3 separate regions of the Homo sapiens genome follow, and all the other regions are linked to region 2. The links are contacts of gene promoters, found by promoter capture Hi-C in human tissues and cell types (Jung and others, 2019). All regions are on one chromosome and are shown on one strand. Each heading gives the region's core, a stretch centred on a gene start or on the middle of the fragment in contact. The rest is flanking DNA. Distances are from core to core; before and after follow the strand shown. Region 1 holds the start of MAP2K2 (mitogen-activated protein kinase kinase 2). Region 2 holds the start of STAP2 (signal transducing adaptor family member 2). Region 3 overlaps ANKRD24 (ankyrin repeat domain 24).

Region 1 (2,700 bases), core at 169-2,668, 210 kb before region 2:
TCACTCCAATCTCATTACTCAGGGACCCCACCATCTCCCCGATTTCACTATTCAGGGACCGTTCACCCCATTTCACTACTCAGAGACCTACCACCATTCTGCTACTCAGTGACTCCATGCCCTGTCTTTTCCCACAGGGACCTCCCTTGGCCCTATCTCATTATTGAGGGACCCTTACCCCGTCTTTTCCTACCAGGGACCCTACCCCATCTCAGTCTCATTACTCAGGGACCCCTCACCCCATCCTCTCCCCTCTGGAGCCCCCTTGCCCAGATTTCCTCCTCAGGGGCTGCCTGACCTCCCCACACCCCATCCTCTCCTCTCAGGAATGCCCTGCACCCCGATTTCCCTACTCAGGGTCTCCCCTCACCCTCATCTCATGACTACGGCAACCTTTACTCCGTCCTTTCCTCTTAGGAACTCTTCACCCTCATTTCACTACTCAAGGACCCCACACTGTGTTCTCTCCTCTTAGAGATACCCCTCACCCCGATCTCACTGCTTGGGGAGCCTCATCCTGTTCTCTCCTTGGGGACACCCCTCATTCCGATTTTCCTACTGAGGGACTCCCCTCACCCCAGCTTCACTTTTCAGAAGCCCCACACCCCATCTTCTGCACTGCAGGGACCTCCCCTCACTCAACCTCGCTGCTCAGGGACCCCTGTCCCCATCCTCTCCTCTTAGAGACATCCTTCACCCCAACTTCACTACTCAGAGACTCCCGTTATCCCAATTCCACTCTTCAGGAACCCCACACCCCATCTTTTCCACCACAAGGACCTCCCCTCGCCCAATCTCACTGCTCAAAGACCCCCCTGCCCCGTGCACCCTTCGCCCCGTCCTCCGAGGGCCCCCTGCCCCGTCCTCCCCCGAGGGCCCCCTGCCCCGTCCTCCCCCGAGGGTCCCCTGCCCTGTCCTCCCCTCGAGAACCCCCTGCCCCGTGCACCACTCACCCCGTCCTCCCCCGTGACCCCCCTGCCTCGTGCACTCCTCGCGAACCCCCGTCCCCTCGCCCCGTCCTTCCCCGAGGGCTCCCTGCCCCGTGCACCCCAAGCCTCCGGCTGACCCCTGCCCACTCACTCGGAGGCGCCCTCGCTGGTAGGGGATGGGCCCTCGGCGATGGTAGGGTTGATGGTGAGCGCCGGCAGCACCGGCTTCCTCCGGGCCAGCATCGGGGCTCCGCGGGCCGGCGGCGGCGGCGCCTCTAGCCGGGGCCCATAGGGGGCGGGCCGGGAGCGGTCGGCGCCTACGCGAGCCCGGGGCTGCGGCCGCGGCCCAGGCCGGCGTCGGGGCGGCCGAGGGCGGGCGGCGCTGCGGGCCTGGGCCGAGGGTAGCCGAGGGGCGCTGGGGCTGAGGCGAGCGAGCCGCTACCGCTGCCGAGGCCCGAAGAAGGCTGACGCCGCAGCCCGAGTCCGAGAGGCAGGGGGAGGGGAGGGGCGGCCACAAGATCGCGGACCGGCTTCTCGCGATAACGGGATCGGGAGCCGCGATGGACCCCACCCCCAGCCGCCGCGCCTGCGCAGCAGCACAAGGCCGCCTTTCGGAGGGGAAAGGGGCGGAGACCGACGCGAGGCGGTGCCGGGACCGGGCGCCCTCGCTTGCCTTACCACGGCGCGTGTGCCCAAGCGCTTGGGGCATGAGGCGCGGGAGCAGGGGAGGAGACGGAGGGATGAAGGCTGGGGTGATGGTCGTGCACAGGTGGGCAGGGTAGCCAGACTCCTGAGAGCCTGTGGTGCCCCAGGCTGGGGCTGAGAGAACCCGTAAGACCCCAGAACAGTGGACGAGACCCACCCAGAGTCCATTTAATCTTTTTGGCAAGCGTGGACACACGCCCCTAGCCCCCACCGCCTTAGAGTGTCAGTTACTCCCCCTCCTTCATCAGAACAAGGCCACTCTAAAACATTTTTAAAATTTATTTTAATTGACAAATAAAATTGCATATATTACTATGCGCATGTTGAAACATTTTTATTATAAAATACACATAACATAAAACTTGTCATTTTAACCATTTCTAAATGCACAGCTCAGCGGCATTAAGCAACCACCACCACCACCATCTCCAGAATTTTCTCATCTTCCGAAACTGAAACACTGTCCCCTATGAAACCTCACTCCCTATCCCCCTCCCCAGCCCCTGGAACCCAACGTCGTACTTCCTGTGAATCTGATGATTCTAGGGACTTCATATGAGTAGGATCACACAGGTTTTGTCCCTTTGTGGCTGGCATATTTCACTGAGGGCCACGTCCTCAAGGTGCCTGTTGTAGCTGTGTTAGATCCACGTTGTAACCTGTGTTAGAATTTACCCACTTGACTACTCCGGGCATACTTCCAATCGGGTAGCCCTGCTCCAAAAAAGAGCAGAAAAAAAAAAAAAAAGAAAAATTTCCCTTTTTTTTTTTTTGAGACGGAGTCTCGCTCTGTCACCCAGGCTGGAGTGCAGTGGTGCGATCTCGGCCCACTGCAAACTCTGCCTCCCGGGTTCACGCCATTCTCCTGCCTCAGCCTCCCGAGTAGCTGGGACTACAGGTGCCCACCACCATGCCCGGCTAATTTTTTTGTATTTTTAGTAGAGACGGGGTTTCACCGTGTTAGCCAGGATGGTCTCCATCTCCTGACCTCGTGATCCACCCGCCTCGATCTCCCAAAGTGCTGGGATTACAGGCGTGAGCCACCGCACCCAGTCAGGATTTTCCT
Region 2 (2,700 bases), core at 3-2,502:
GGTGGCTCATGCCTGTAATCCCAGCATTTAGAGAGGCCGAGACAGGTGGATCACCTGAGGTCAAGAGTTCAAGACCAGCCGGGCCAACAAAATGAAACACTGTCTTTACTAAAAATACAAAAATTAGGTGTGGTGGTGCGTACCTGTAATCCCAGCTACTCGGGAGGCTGAGGCACGAGAATCGCTTAATCGTTTGAACCTGGGAGGTGGAGGTTGCAGTGAGCCGAGATGGTGCCACTGCACTGCAGCCTGGGTGACAGAGTGAGACTCAGTCTCAAAAATAAATAAATAAAATAAAAGCCAGAAGAGGCAGTGCATGCCTGTGGTCCCAGCTACTCAGGAGGCTGGGGCGGGAGGTTCACTTGAGCCCAGGAGTTTGAGGCTACAGTGAGCCATGATCGTGCCCCTGCACTCTAGCCTGGGTGACAGAGCAACTCTGTCTCTAACAAAAAGAAAGAAAGAAAATGAATATGCGGCATTGGGAAGGAGAGATAGGGCCTCACGGGGAACGGAGGGGCTGGGACTTTATTCTGAGGGAGACATAAGCACACACACACACACACATGCACGCACTGTCCATGGCAACTATCTGTCCTGTGGAATGTGGCCCCCGCTAGCTCTTACTGTCCTCACATGTCACCTGTCCTGGCCTTCGCCCCAGCAGCTGAGGTTCACGGAGTTTTTCCTGGGCTGGGAGCGGGAGGAAGCTCGGGAGTCAGAGGACTCCCCATTTCCTGGAGGAAGTCCCTGATCTTGTTTGTATTCAAGAGAGTGAACGAGAGACAAAAGCAAAGATTGAGACAAAGAGAGAGGGAGACTGAGACAGACATCGGGAGAGACAGACGGGGCCAGGGAGAGAGAAAGAGAAAAAGAAACCAAATTCAAAGACACACGGAGACAGAGATAGACGCACAGAGAGGCAGATGGCCAGAACCCACCCCAGTCCCCCAGCACGTGTCCTGCCCCATCCAGCACCCACCCCGCCCCCCCTTGGCGAGTGGGGAGACAGGGACTCAGAGAGGTGCCGCAGCTCCCCACGGTGGCCCAGCAGGGCCAGCCCCCGCCTCCCCACCTTACCCGGTCACAGGGCCCCTTCTTCTCTAGAAAGCTCTCATAGTAGTGTGAAGGCAGGACACCCTTAGGCTTGGGGACACGGGGTGGCCTCAGGGCAGAGGCCATGACGGAGCCAGGGTCTTCCGCCTGGCCTCTCCTTCCAGTGGGTGCCCCAGCTGGGCCGGGAAGCTGAGAAACAGGTTTCAGGGGAGTTTCCTGTGTCAGCCCGTCAACTCCCTCCCCTGCCAGGGCTGGGCAGAGGCTGATCCCAGCAGGTCCAGTGATCCTAGGGAAATCCCCGCCTCTCCGGTGTGGAACTGAGAACAGAGAGAATGTATAAGTCTACTTGAATGGGAGAATAATCTTCGCTATATCTGCAAAGACAGAGACATGGTCTGTCTCTTTATTTATTTATTTATCTATTTTTCCTATTTTGAGACAGAGTTTCACTCTGTTGCCCAGGCTGGAGTAAAGTGGTATGATCTTGGCTCACTGCGACCTCTGCCTCCCGGGTTCAAGAGACTGCGCTGCCTCCCGGGTTCAGAGACTGAGTCCAAGCTCAGTCTCCTGACTAGCGTGGATTGCAGGTGACCGCCACCACGCCTGGCTAATTTTTGTATTTGTAGTAGAGACGAGGTTTCCCCATGTTGGCCCAGGCTGGTCTCGAACTCCTGACCCCAAGTTTTCTGCCCGCCTCAGCCTCCCAAAGTGCTGAGATTACAGGCATGAGCCACCACACCTGGCCCTTTCTCTTACTTTGATGGACCCTAATGATTACATTGGGCCCACCTGGATAATCCACGCTACTCTCCCTATTTTAAAGTCAGCTGACTAGCAACTTTAATTTCATCTGCAATTTTTCTTTTTTAGACGGTGTCTCATTCTGTTGTCGATGCTGGAGTGCAGTGGCACGATCATAGTTCACTGCAGCCCTGACCTCCCAATCTCAAGCGGTCCTCCTGCCTCAGCCACCCGAAGAGCTGGGACTATAGGTGGGCACCACCACACCCAGCTAATTTATTTTCCTTTTTTAAGGATGAGTTCTCACTATGTTGCCTAGGCTGGAGTACAGTGGGGCGATCATGACTCACTGTAGCCTCGACCTTACAGGCTCAAGTGATCCTCCAGCCTCAGCCTCCAGAGTAGGTGGTACTACAGTTGCATGCCACCACACCTGGCTAATTTTTTTTTTTCTTTTTTTTGAGACAGACTCTCGCTCTGTAGCCCAGGCTGGAGTGCAGTGGCGTGATCTCGGCTCACTGCAAGCTCCGCCTCCCAGGTTCATGCCATTCGCCTGGCTCAGCCTCCCAAGTAGCTGGGATTACAGGTGCCTGCCACCACGCCCAGCTAATTTTTACACTTACTAGAGACAGGTTCTTGCTATGTTGCCCAGGCTGGTCTTTTTTTTTTTTTTTTTTTGAGACAGAGTCTTACTCTGTCACCCAGGCTGGAGTGCAGTGGAGCGATCTCGGCTTACTGCAACCTCTGCCTCCCAGGTTCAAGCAATTCTCCTGCCTCAGCCTCCCGAGTAGCTGGGATTATAGGCACGTGCCACCATGCCCAGCTAATTTGTTTGTATTTTTATTTTAGTAGAGATGGAGTTTCACTGTGTTAGCCAGGATGGTCTTAATCTCCTGACCTTGTGAT
Region 3 (2,700 bases), core at 67-2,566, 140 kb before region 2:
AGGTGTTCAAGCCTACAGTGAGCTATGATCACACTGCACTCTAGCCTGGGCCACAGAGCAAGATCCTTTCTGCAGGGAAAAAAGGAGAGAAATACTAGGGTTTACGGACTTTGCTAGACTCAGAAACTCATCACAAGTAGTTGACATGGCTTGGGGAGCAGCTGGGAGCTACTTGAATAGCTGGAGCTCCAGTAAATCTTCTTTCCTTCCCCAGGTTACAATGCCCTCCACCTGGCCGCCAAATACGGGCACCCACAGTGCTTGAAGCAACTACTGCAGGTCATTTACTGTCTTATCTCAGCTACTCCCTTGGCCCCTACTACTCCTGAGTTCCAGCAATTCCTTGAACCCCCAGATGCTCTATGAATCCTAGATATTCCTTGGCCCCTTTTACTCCAGAACCCTAGCTACTCCCTGGATAACCAGGTACTCTCAGACCATCCACATGCTTCTCCTATTTAAGATGTACTCCCAAGCCAGGCGCGGTGGCTCACGCCTGTAATCCCAGCACTTTGGGAGGCTGAGGTCGGTGAAATCGCCTGAGGTCAGGAGTTCGAGACCAGCCTGGCCAACACAGTGAAACCCCGTCTCTACTAAAAATACAAAAAATTAGCTGGGAGCGGTGGTGTGTGCCTGTAATCTCAGCTACTAGGGAGGCTGAGGCAGGAGAATCCCTTGAACTTGGGAGGCGGAGGTTGCAGTGAGCCGAGATCATGCCATTGCACTCCAGCCTGGGCAACAAGAGCGAAACACCATCTAAAATATATATATATACTCCCAATGCCAGGTATTTCCTGAGCTCTGTTTCTCCCCAAGCCCTGGGTCCTTCCTTAGCCCCAGACACTCCCAGAGTTCCCAGCCACTCCTCAAATTCTCAGCTGCTTCTCAGCTCTCAGCTATTTTCTTTTCTCACCAATTTTCATGAAAATGGAGTCCCTTGGGGGCCACGGAAGGGTGAGGCTGAAGTATAGCAGAGCCCAGGGTAGGGAAGGCAGTCCTAGAGAAATCAGGCAGCAAGAAGGATGGCTCCGCCTCAAAGGACTCGCCCCATCCCCAGGCTTCCTGCGTGGTGGACGTCGTGGACAGCAGCGGGTGGACTGCCCTACACCATGCAGGTGGGTGCAGCCCAGCCCTGCCCTGACCCCGAAGCCCAGAGGGTGCTAGACTTGGGGGTTATTCTGCCCAGGGCCCTAGGGACCTGACCTGCTGTGAAGCTTCCTGTCTCCTCCTTTCTTTCTTTCTTTTTTTTTTTTTGAGACGGAGTCTCACTCTGTTGCCCAGGCTGGAGTGCAGTGGCAAGATCTCAGCTCACTGTAACATCCATCTCCCAGGTTCAAGCAATTTTCCTGCCTCAGCCTCCCGAGTAGCTGGGACTAGAGGCACCTGCCACCACACCTGGCTGATGTTTTGTATTTTTAGTAAAGACGGGGTTTCACCATGGTGGCCAGGATGGTCTCGAACTCCTGACCTCAGGTGATCCACCCGCCTTGGCCTCCCAAAGTGCTGGGATTACAGGCGTGAGCCACCGCTCCTGGCCTTCCTTTTCTTTTTATGAGATAGGGTCTTGCTCTGTTGCCCAGGCTGAAGTACAGTGGGGCAATCATGGCTCACTGCATCCTTGACCTCCCGGGTTCAAACGATCCTCCTGCCTCAGACTCCCAAGTAGCTGGGACCACAGGCGTGCACCACCATGCCTGGCTAATATTTTAAATTTATTTGTAGATACAGGATCTTGCTATGTTGCCCAGGCTGATCTCAAACTCCTGGGCTCAAATGATCCTCCCACCTCGGCCACTCAAAGTGCTGGAATTACAGGCGTGAGCCACCTCACCTAGCCTCCTCCTTTTTTTCTTGACATAGAATCTCCCTCTGTCGCCCAGGGTGGAGTGCAATGGCGCAATCTTGGCTCACTGCAACCTCCACCTCCCAGGTTCAAGCAATTCTCCTGCCTTAGCCTCCTGAGTAGCTGGGACTACAGACCTATGCCACAACACCCACCTAAAATTTTTTTGTATTTTTAGTAGAGATGGGGTTTCACCATGTTGGCCAGGCTCATCTCGAACTCCTGACCTCAGGTGATCTGCCCGCCTCGGCCTCCCAAAGTGCTGGGATTACAGGCGTGAGCCACCGTGCCGGCCCTTCTCCCTTTTTTTTTTTTTTTTTTTTTTTTGAGGTGGAGTCTCGCTCTGTCACCCAGGCTGGAGTGCAGTGGCGTGATCTCGGCTCACTGCAAGCTCCGCCTCCCGGGTCCACGCCATTCTCCTGCCTCAGCCTCCCGAGTAGCGGGGACTACAGGCGCCTGCCACCATGCCCGGCTAATTTTTTTGTATTTTTTAGTAGAGACGGGGTTTCACTGTGTTAGCCAGGATGGTCTTGATCTCCTGACCTCGTGATCCGCCTGCTCGGCCTCCCAAAGTGCTGGGATTACAGGCGTGAGCCACCGTGCCGGCCCTTCTCCTTTTTTATTACCTACTGTGTGCCAGGCACTGGAGCCCATCATAAATCCCGGTTACCCTTTGAACCACAGGCTATTAGCCCATTGCACAGATGAGGCTTGATGAGGCTTAATGAGGCTGTCACTTGTCCGCAGCAGGTAAATCGTAGGGAATCCAGGTCGTCTGACCTCAAGGAGCAGTCGAATGTACTCCTGGGCTTTGTGAGGATGAGGAGAGGTCCCTAGGGTTTAATTTCCTTTGTGGA

Evidence for each region. The method cuts DNA at HindIII sites, captures the fragments that hold promoters and counts their contacts. A contact is called where the count stands out against the background at its distance.
Region 1: a contact is called between the fragment with the promoter of MAP2K2 here and the fragment with the promoter of STAP2 in region 2, in 1 of the 25 tissues and cell types used here (dorsolateral prefrontal cortex).
Region 3: a contact is called between a fragment that was not itself captured here and the fragment with the promoter of STAP2 in region 2, in 3 of the 25 tissues and cell types used here (dorsolateral prefrontal cortex, mesenchymal stem cells and pancreas).

Annotation. Positions count from the first base shown.
Region 1 is chr19:4,122,704-4,125,403 of GRCh38, forward strand. It overlaps MAP2K2 (mitogen-activated protein kinase kinase 2), which reads right to left and starts at 1,419. Exons shown (of 11, transcript NM_030662.4): 1 at 1,081-1,419. The coding sequence starts at 1,172. RefSeq lists silencers at 1,012-1,261, 1,452-1,571. The HindIII fragment of the contact is 9,633 bases long and covers 1-2,700 here.
Region 2 is chr19:4,337,575-4,340,274 of GRCh38, forward strand. STAP2 (signal transducing adaptor family member 2) reads right to left here and starts at 1,253. Exons shown (of 13, transcript NM_001013841.2): 1 at 1,078-1,253. The coding sequence starts at 1,179. The HindIII fragment of the contact is 19,957 bases long and covers 1-2,700 here.
Region 3 is chr19:4,201,812-4,204,511 of GRCh38, forward strand. ANKRD24 (ankyrin repeat domain 24) reads left to right here. Exons shown (of 22, transcript NM_001393985.1): 6 at 215-279; 7 at 1,058-1,115. Among named protein-coding and RNA genes, the nearest start is that of ANKRD24, 20 kb to the left of the region's middle. The HindIII fragment of the contact is 4,087 bases long and covers 1-2,700 here.